3 separate regions of the Homo sapiens genome follow, and regions 2 and 3 are each linked to region 1. Evidence: promoter capture Hi-C in 16 types of primary human blood cells and fetal thymus (Javierre and others, 2016). All regions are on one chromosome and are shown on one strand. The core of a region is centred on a gene start or on the middle of the fragment in contact, and the rest is flanking DNA. Distances in the headings are between cores, read along the strand shown. Region 1 holds the start of PITRM1-AS1 (PITRM1 antisense RNA 1). Region 2 overlaps MANCR (mitotically associated long non coding RNA). Region 3 holds the start of LINC00705 (long intergenic non-protein coding RNA 705).

Region 1 (3,052 bases), core at 254-2,753:
GTTTATAGATTAGGTGCAGCAAGATATTAACAAAATACAACAATTATACTGTAATAAAAGTTACGCTGATGGGCTACTATTAAGTAAAACAAGGGTTCTGTGAACAGAAGCTCTTGGATACCCACAGCGTATCTGATACCTAGACGGCTACTGGGTGACCAACAGGCAGGTACCGTAGACAGCGTCAGCTTTCATCCCACTGCTTAGAAGAATGGTGTACAATTTAAAACTTAGGAAGTGTTTATGTCTGGAATTTTCCATTTAATATTTTCAGACCGAGGGGGACTGTGGGTAATAAACCATGGAAGGCAAACCCACGGATGGAGGCACTACCGTGTTCTGCCAAAATATGCTGGCTGAAGCCAGGGTTTACTGAAGGCAGAATGCTTCCTGTTTCGGCTGCTGGCCCTAATCCTCGCGCCAGAAAGGACATTGCTGGGTGTGGCTAAGTGCCCAAGGAGTGAAAAGAAGCACACAGAACAACTTTTGTCTAAAATTCACTGCAGTAGAAGAAAATGACACTGATAATCATGAGTAGAAGACTAAAACGACGTGTGCATCCCAATGTGTGAACTAGAGCAAAACTCACCTGTAAGAGTAAAGGGTGAAAATCCCATTGTGGCTGAGTTTTGCGCCTCCACCATAAGCACCGCCTTTTTCTCGAATTTCTGTATGCAAGAATTTGGCAGTCATCAAACGTGCAAGGATTTTAAGACTGAAATGATTAAAAAATGCAAGTTAATACCGTGGCTGATAAAAAAGCATAGACAATGAAGTAATTGTTGGATTAAGTGAAAATGAAAATCGAGTTGTAAAATAATGCTGCATAAATTATGGTCCCATATTTTGGTCTTGTTTTTTAAGAGATGGGGTCTCGCTCTGTCGCCAGGCTGGAGTGCATTAGTGCAATCACAGCTCACTGCAGCTTTGAACTCCTGGGCTCAAGGGATCCTCCCACAACAGCCTCCTGAGTAGCTGGGCCTACAGGTGTGTGCCACCACGCCTGACTATTTTTACAGTTTTTGTAGAGGCAGGGTCTAGCTTTGTTGCCCAGGCTGGTCTCAAACACCTGGCTTCAAGTGATCCTCCTGCCTTCAAAGTGCTGAGCTTACAGGCATGAGATTTTCTTTTCAATTAACCAAAACTAAAAAGCACAAGGAAGCACAATTTTCAAACAGTTGGCTTAGATTACAGGGTTGAAGGGAGAGGTGGTGGGGAGGGAATCTTAACACTTCCAGCACCACACTGCTTAACTTGTTCCAATGCACATGTGGCATTTTTAAAATCTCGTGAAGTAGAAAGAGGTTATTTCTATTATAAAGGCAAATGAGCAAATGAACATTTATTTAAATGTCTCACATCAGAATATGGAAAGAAAGGAAACTGAAGTGAGTTTTATAAGAATCCCTTAAGAAAACACACACTCTCTGATAAAGCACATTTCTAGGAACAGGGCCAATTTCCTCTGCCTTCCACTGTGAACGGTAACATCACATTCAAGCTGATTCTAGAACACATCCACCTCCGACAGAAGGCGGGGCAGACAATGATGGGAGGGTCTGCAGCACAGACACAGGCTCCTTGAAGACGCCCGTGGTGAGATCAGCCCCAGGTCGCCGCTTCCACAGACAGGCCTTTTCCTAAAGTGGATGAAGGGAGTCAAATAGGCCAGGTGGGAAATCAAGGAAGGAGTGGGCGTGTTCCCAGGGGCTGTGGTGGGAGAAGTCACGACCATCTCGTGTGGGTCCTCCAGGAGAAACCCAGCGCCACTCGGGTGGCTGGGGCGCCGTCAGCCGGGACTAGCGAGGCTGGAGTCAGACCCTGGGGGACGGAGTCTCCACCAGCACCGGCAGGGATGGCGTTCCATCCGTCCACACATTATCCTTCCTGAGAAATTTCTATTACTTGTATATTAAAAACATGCTCACTTTTGAAAGATTATAAAATACAAAACACAAGGAAAAAAAGATCTGGAATCCCACTGCCCAGGGGGAACCTCCACATTTTTAGTGTTTTCTGTCTACATTTTCCTGTTGGATAGTGGAAACAGACACCACTCTTCTGCCGGCATAGCAGACAGATCTGTTCATCTTCTACAAATATGGAAATAAATGAACAAAACAGCTGACCACATACTTCTACAGCCAGCTCTTTCTGGGCCCCCACTGCAGCCCCACGTTTCTTCCCGCCTGCCTCCTACACACCTCCCCATCTGTGACCCTCTGTGACACACGTGCACCTCGGAGGCCCGGCTCCTTCTCCAATCAGGACAGGCTGCCCAGGCCTAAGCCTGCCTTCCCCCTCTCTACCAGGCTCACTCCTTGGTTTAGTCCCTCATGGGGGTAGCTGCCTGGGACAAGGACACAGGAAGTGAATTTCCGGGATATAACATGTTTGCACATATCTGTGTCATACACACCCAACTGACGGGTCCCCAAAGGTGCACGTCTGTGAGTCTGTCCTGGTCTGGCCAGTTTCCCCAGATGGGATGAACACAGCCAAGGGGCAGCCAGAGTTCGGAAGAAGGGGCTGGAGGGCCAGTCTGTAGGCTGCAAACTCCCTCGCCCCACGCCACTTTGGGAACAGGCCTGACCCTGACTCTTGGCTGTGGCTTCGGCTGCTCAACCCAGGGCCTCCTTCCCTGAGCTTCTGACTTGGTGGGGAGACAGGGGAGACAAACTCCTTAGAGGGACTGTGAGGCGGCCTCCAGCCCTGCCATCTGCAGGGCTCTGCAGGACCACCTGGTTTCTCCCCACTGCCCTGTCCCTCTGTGGCCCCAGGTCAGGCACCCCCCACCCACCCAGAGTCTGGCTCACGAGGTTCTCCTGCAGCCCCCATGGCTCTCCGGGTCACCTCCCACTCTTTCCCTTGTAGCTTCGTGTCTTGATCTGCCTTTGCTGTCATTCACGCATCTGTCCTCATGAAGGCTTAACCTACCATGTTTATCAGAAATCTCAGCCTAAATTCATTCGATTTTTACCTAGAGATGAGGTGAGTACATGGGGCATGTTGAAAGCAGTCTGTGTTTAAGGTCATAGGTATCTGTATTGTT
Region 2 (3,052 bases), core at 214-2,713, 1.5 Mb after region 1:
TTTCATGAGTCACTGTCTTAAAATAATTTTCTTCCTAGTGTTATAATACTTCCTTATAGGAATTTTGATTCTGCAAATAAATTTTACATCAATTGATATTTGCAACATTATTTTAATATTAAATAAAATTATATTTTAGTTTTGTTTAATAAAACAACATCAAGATTTGCAACAAGTACTATTACCACTTTCTCACAAACTAATTATAATACCTATTTGGTTGCCATGTGGTTTAGGCACTCATCTCAGAGAGTCAGTTGTGTATAGGGTAGTGATTCTGCCATGGTACCTGTCTTCATTATTTTCAGCGAGATCCGTAAACTCTTTGTGACTGAGTCTCACCTGTTGAACTAACCAGTAACTGTTGCTCTGGTCCACTGAAAAACTAAGAGTCATTTGTATCACGTTCTAATCGCCTTCATCACAAGGGCTATCTTTCCTGCTTTGAAACTTAAATGTTCATCATCAAGCAGTTTCTTGTGTGAGGTACCTACCTTGATAACTACGTTAAACATTTCCCTATTTTTTTCAGTCCTTTAAAGATTCTGCATATTTACTGGGTGTAAGATAATTTTCTCAGCATGAAAAGAAGAATGTGAAATGGTTGAGGTTTAAATACCCATAAGAGAAGAGGAGATAAGAGACTAGTTACTGTCTTAAGCTTATACTTGAATTTCAAGTAGATACTTGCAAAATCTGGGGACTATTGAAAAGCTACTATTAATAATAAGAGAAAATGCCCCCATATAGGGACAAAAATACTCCAAGTGAAGTAGCCATCTGAATGGGACTCAGTTGGGGGAGAAAATGCTTTTTACAACAAATTAAATTCTACTTCGATCTTCGCACAAATTTGTAGTCCAAATTAATATTATAAAAGAATTGTGAAAATCCCAAGTTAATACATGAAGAAGAGACATATTTTGGGAAGTTGAAATATTAGTGGCTTCAGCCAAAGACAATGCAAAAAAGCATTTTGTATGTGTTCCACTTCAGGCATGGCCAAAGATGCTCCTGCCAGGCCAATTTCCCCACAAATAACCACTCGAAACCTGGATAAATTTTTTGAATAGTAGCCTGGAGGCAGTGCAGATTGAGCAGAGGCTGAAAGATTATAGGAGGGAATCAATTTGGAAGAAAGAATGGCATGGGGTAATTTTCCTGTGTTCTCAATTATTTTAGCCTCAATGCAGATTGCAGTCAGCATTAATAAGTAAATCCTTGATAGAAAACCCATACTTTTTCTGTTCTAAAGAACTGGAGAACAGAGTTTGAAATAATCATTTCCACCAGAAAGTGAGGGAGATATTCCAGAAAGGAGATGGCCAGAGACGGGGAGCCCAGATCCCATGCACAAATTTCAGCCAATTAACTAACCAACCTTAAACCATGCATACACAAGGCAGGATCAAAGCACTTTGGAATGAATTTTGAGCTGTGTTCAAAACACAATGTTCATGAGTCTAAAATAATTGTCCGCTAAAATTTAGAAAATCAATACTCTATTAAGGATTATAACAGGATTCAGTCTCTACATCTTCAGAGTATTCAAGAAACAATACAAATCCAGTCAATAGGTGAAGAAAGAATGGATATTTCATTCATTCTCAAGAGAAAAGACAACCTATGGAAAACAATACCCAAATGAACATATGTTGAAATAAGCACATAGGATATTATTTTAACTATTTTAACTACACTCAGTAGTGTAAAAAGAAATATGCTCTTAATAATCAAAATACAAATAGTTTCATCAGCAAATAGAAACTAGGAAAAAGTCTCAAACAGAAATGCAAGAATCAGCCAGGTGCAGTGGCTCACACCTGTAATCCCATCACTTTGGGAGGCTGAGGTGGGCTAATCACCTGAGGTCAACAGTTCGAGACCAGCCTGGCCAACATTGTGAAACCCCATCTCTACAAAAAATACAAAAATAGCTGGGTGTGATGGCATGCACCTGTAATCCCAGCTACTTGGGAGGCTGAGGCAGGTAAATCGCTTGAACCTGGGAGGTGGAGGCTGCAGTGAGCCAAGATTGCACCACTGCAATCCAGTCTGGGTGACAGAGTGAGATGCTGTCTCAAACAAAAACAAACAAACAAAACAAAACAAACAAGAAATGCAAGAAGGGAAAAATACAATGTATGCAGTAAGCACACACTAATTGGGCTTCACAGAATAATAGAATTGACAAAGAAAGGGGTCAGAGAGATCAACAGAACTTTTTAAAATCTGAACAATACCAAGATTGATAAGCAAAGTGAACAAAGCTTCATGGACCTGTGAAATAATCTCTGAAGTTCCAATATCCATGTAACTGCAGTTCCACAGCAGAAGAGAAAGAAAATGGGACATACAGACACACAATTATTGAAAAAAAAAAACTGAACTTTTTCAATTAGGTAAAAGATAAATTTACAGATTATAGAAGCTCAGTAAATTCCAAGTGTGAGCAAACATCATTAAAATGAGCAAGTATGTAATAGTCAAAGTATTTAAAGCCAAAGAAAGAATGTTTTCACAAGCCAGACAAAAATGGCATATTACATACATGCAAAAAATGTTTCAAATATCTTTTTCTTGTCAGAAATTTTAGATGTGAGAAGACAGTTGAAAAATATTATAAGGTAATGCAAGGAAAGAAACTGCCAACCCACAATTCTACATCCAACAAATGTATTCTTCAGAATATGAAGGCAAAATAGAGACAACCTCATACGTTCCACCATTGTGTTTTGGAAGCAGATAATTTGTTTTCTAGTTTTACAGTTCTGTGGATGAAGGGACTTTGCCCCAGTATGGATGAAAACTAAGAGTCTCACCCATACCTAATTTAGATCATTTCAATGATGAGATTTGTAACTTTTTGAGTTGATATTAATGTGACATTTTTTAGAGTTAACGCTTAAATGGGTTAAGAATTTGGGGGACATGGGTAAATGTATTTTGCACACGGGAGAACATGAATTTGGGGTGCCAGCTGGTGGAGTTTACTGGGTTAATTAGTGCCACCCTTCAGCCCCCTAAAAATGCCTGTTCAACTGGAACCTGT
Region 3 (3,052 bases), core at 407-2,906, 1.5 Mb after region 1:
AATGAATTTTTATGCCTGGGTTTCTGTGACCCAAGTTATGCTGAAGAATATGAGAGACACCACCTTTTAAAAATTTTTACATAGCCTGCGGCCACTGCAATTCGTTAATCCCTTTGGAAAATTGCTTAAGCCTGGCATGTTTTGTAATGAACTTTATCTCTTCACTACCAAAAGTCGTAAAAAGGAACTTCAGTGAGGAAAGAAACACAATTGATAATTGAATATTTCAAAGAGATCAGCATTTTAGAAAACTGGGTATGTATTAATATGCTATATCTGACATATGACATGAAAATGACATATATAATATAATTTTGTTTATACTATTATATATTTTATACATTTTGTGTTATAATACATTTTGAATATATGTATATATATACACATACATATATACACACACACAATATATATAGGAAAATAAAATTAAATATTATCAGAATGTTTATTTCTTGATGATGGGAATTTGAGTGGTTCTTTTTTTACTTTATTTCTATTGTTATTCATTTGGTATTTTCCAAATTTTGTTCAGTGATTTTTTATTACTTTTACAATGATAGACATTATGTTTGGAGGCAGAAAAAAGAAGGGAACAGACAAGAAACGTTCATTTGAAAATTCTAAATGCAGAACATACCTGAAGTCAAAGTGTCCCCCGTCACTGAAAAACCAAAGCCACCAATATCAAAGAAGCGTGGGCCCTTCCGCCCCCTACTGTCTATCTTCAGTAACTGTCCAGTGAGTCTCCGCCTTTTGTTAGCAGGAATCTAAGAATCTCCTGGGAAGCTTGCTGTTTGCAAAATTAGGAAATCTTGAGCTACATCCTCAGATAATCTGAGGCTGGATACCCTCAAACTATACTGTGAGAAACATCATCAAAATTAAGTTACATGACGTGATCACAGCTATAGTAATAAAATCAGAAAAAATATGGACATCATATTTAGAAACACAAATTGGCAACGAGATTTCTTTCAGTTTTAAAAAAGTGTATTAGTATATAACATAATATAGTATGTATTAAAATAATATACATTTAAGGGTATATAAATATATGCTTAGTACACATTGTCAGTATTAATATCAATACATTACCTTTTATACATATGTATGTGTGTTTGTTTGTGTATTTATGCACATGCAGCTTTATATTTGCCTATGTAGTTGTATATATGTAGAGTGCATAGTATAGTGTGGATGTGTGCGTATGTGGTATGCATATACCACACACACAGAGTCCTGCACATACACACACAGAGCCATGCATCGTTTAACAATGGGGATACATTCTGAGAAACGCATCCATAGGTGATTTTGTTGTTATGCAAACATCATAGTGTGAACTTTCACAAAACTAGACAGAAGAGCCTACTACACACCTACTGCTGCTAGGCAACAAACATGTACAGCCTGTTATTGTCCTGAATACTGTAGGCAATTGTAACACAATGGTATTTACATATCTAAACATAGAAAAGATACAGTAAAAATATGGTATAAAAGATAAAAATGATGCACCTGTGTAGGACACTCACCATGAATGCAGCTTTCAGGACTGGAAGTTGCTCTGGCTGGGTCAGTGAGCGAGTGGTGAGTGGATGTGAAAGCCTTGGACATTACTGTATGCTACTGCAGACTTTACAAGCACTGTACACTTAGACTACACAAAATGTACAAAAAAATTTCTCTCATCAATAATGAATTAACCTTAGCCCACTATAACTTTTTTTACAGTATAAACTTTTCACTTTGTTTTAACTTTCTGACTCTTGTAATTACACTCCACTGAAAACACAAATCCACTGTATAGCTGAACAAAAATATTGTCTCTTTTTATATCCGTATTCTATAAGCGCTCTTATATTGTTTAATTTTTTAATTTTTAAACTTTTTTGTTAAAAACTAAAACACAAACCACACAATAGCCTACACCTACACGGGGTCAGGATCATTATCACTGTCTTCCACCTACATTTCTTGCCCCATTGGAAGGTCTTCAGGGGCAACGTCACGCATTAAGCTGGCATCTCCTATGATGACAATGCCTTTTTCTGGATAGCTCCTGAAGGAAGTGCCTGAAGCTGTTTCACAACTGACCTTTTAATAATATATTAACATAAAGAGTACAATCTAAAATAACAATAAAAACTATAGCATATTAAACTAGTAACCTAATCATTTATTATCATTGTCAGGTATTATGTGCTATACCTTATTGTATGTGCTGTATTTTTATATGACTGGCAGTGCAGTAAGTCTGTGTACACAAGCATCACCACGAACACAGGACTAATGCATTTTGCTACAGTCTTACAGTGGCGACTGCCTGATGAGTTGGCAGGAGTTTGCCAGCTCCATTATAATCTTGAGGGATCACCATGGTATATGTGGTCCTTCGTTGAACAAAACGTTGTTATGCTGTACACGACTGTATGTACTTTTACAAATAATGCTGCATTTGTCTTTTTAGAAATTATCAAGATCCTAACCTGCGATTAACATCTGCATTTTAACTCTAAAGCTGATAAAAGCTTTTCCTCACTTTGAAGTTATTTGAAGTAGCAGGTTTTTTAAAAGATGACATATATAAGTTCTTAAAAATCATTATTTACTAATTTCAGCATTTCTTCTGAGCTAAGTTTAATATTGTAAAATCTCACAAGCAATTTATTTAAGGTCAGTTAATGACATTGAAGCCAAATTCCTTTTTAAAATACGCTCTCAGTTGCAATTGAACACAGTTACACGTGCCTCTTTGAAGGAAAACGTAGGCACAGTGATAAATGCAGCGTTTCCTTACCCATAACCAAATAGAAATAGCTGCATCAACATTCCGAGCCCAGGACAAATAGGGCTGAAAAGAAAACAAGAAAAAATCATCAGTTTGGCAGCAAATCCACTGTCACTATACTCCCTGGCACTTGCCTTTGGCCTGGAAAGCACTTGTCAATAACGGCTTCTTTGTTTTCTGAGACGTCATCTGTAAATACTGAAATATTGAAACCTAGTCCAGGCTTTGATACCGCATTCTTAAACCTGTTTTGAAAACCTG

The links. Contacts are between HindIII fragments. The CHiCAGO score rates a contact against its expected background, and 5 or more counts as called.
Region 2: a fragment that was not itself captured here is called in contact with the fragment with the promoter of PITRM1-AS1 in region 1 in 1 of 17 cell types (monocytes); the score reaches 5.4 in monocytes.
Region 3: a fragment that was not itself captured here is called in contact with the fragment with the promoter of PITRM1-AS1 in region 1 in 1 of 17 cell types (fetal thymus); the score reaches 6.6 in fetal thymus.

What each region holds. Positions count from the first base shown.
Region 1 is chr10:3,140,098-3,143,149 of GRCh38, forward strand. It overlaps PITRM1-AS1 (PITRM1 antisense RNA 1), which reads left to right and starts at 1,504. Exons shown (of 4, transcript NR_038284.1): 1 at 1,504-1,672; 2 at 2,875-2,991. It overlaps PITRM1 (pitrilysin metallopeptidase 1), which reads right to left. Exons shown (of 27, transcript NM_014889.4): 24 at 590-715. RefSeq lists enhancers at 1,244-1,745, 1,746-2,245. The HindIII fragment of the contact is 14,067 bases long and covers 1-3,052 here.
Region 2 is chr10:4,673,505-4,676,556 of GRCh38, forward strand. The region is part of intron 1 of MANCR (mitotically associated long non coding RNA); the gene reads right to left. The region is part of intron 1 of LOC105376373 (a long non-coding RNA gene); the gene reads left to right. Among named protein-coding and RNA genes, the nearest start is that of MANCR, 3.0 kb to the right of the region's middle. The HindIII fragment of the contact is 1,609 bases long and covers 660-2,268 here.
Region 3 is chr10:4,656,066-4,659,117 of GRCh38, forward strand. It overlaps MANCR (mitotically associated long non coding RNA), which reads right to left. Exons shown (of 4, transcript NR_024475.1): 3 at 1,536-1,660. LINC00705 (long intergenic non-protein coding RNA 705) reads left to right here and starts at 91. Exons shown (of 3, transcript NR_015425.1): 1 at 91-255. The HindIII fragment of the contact is 1,745 bases long and covers 785-2,529 here.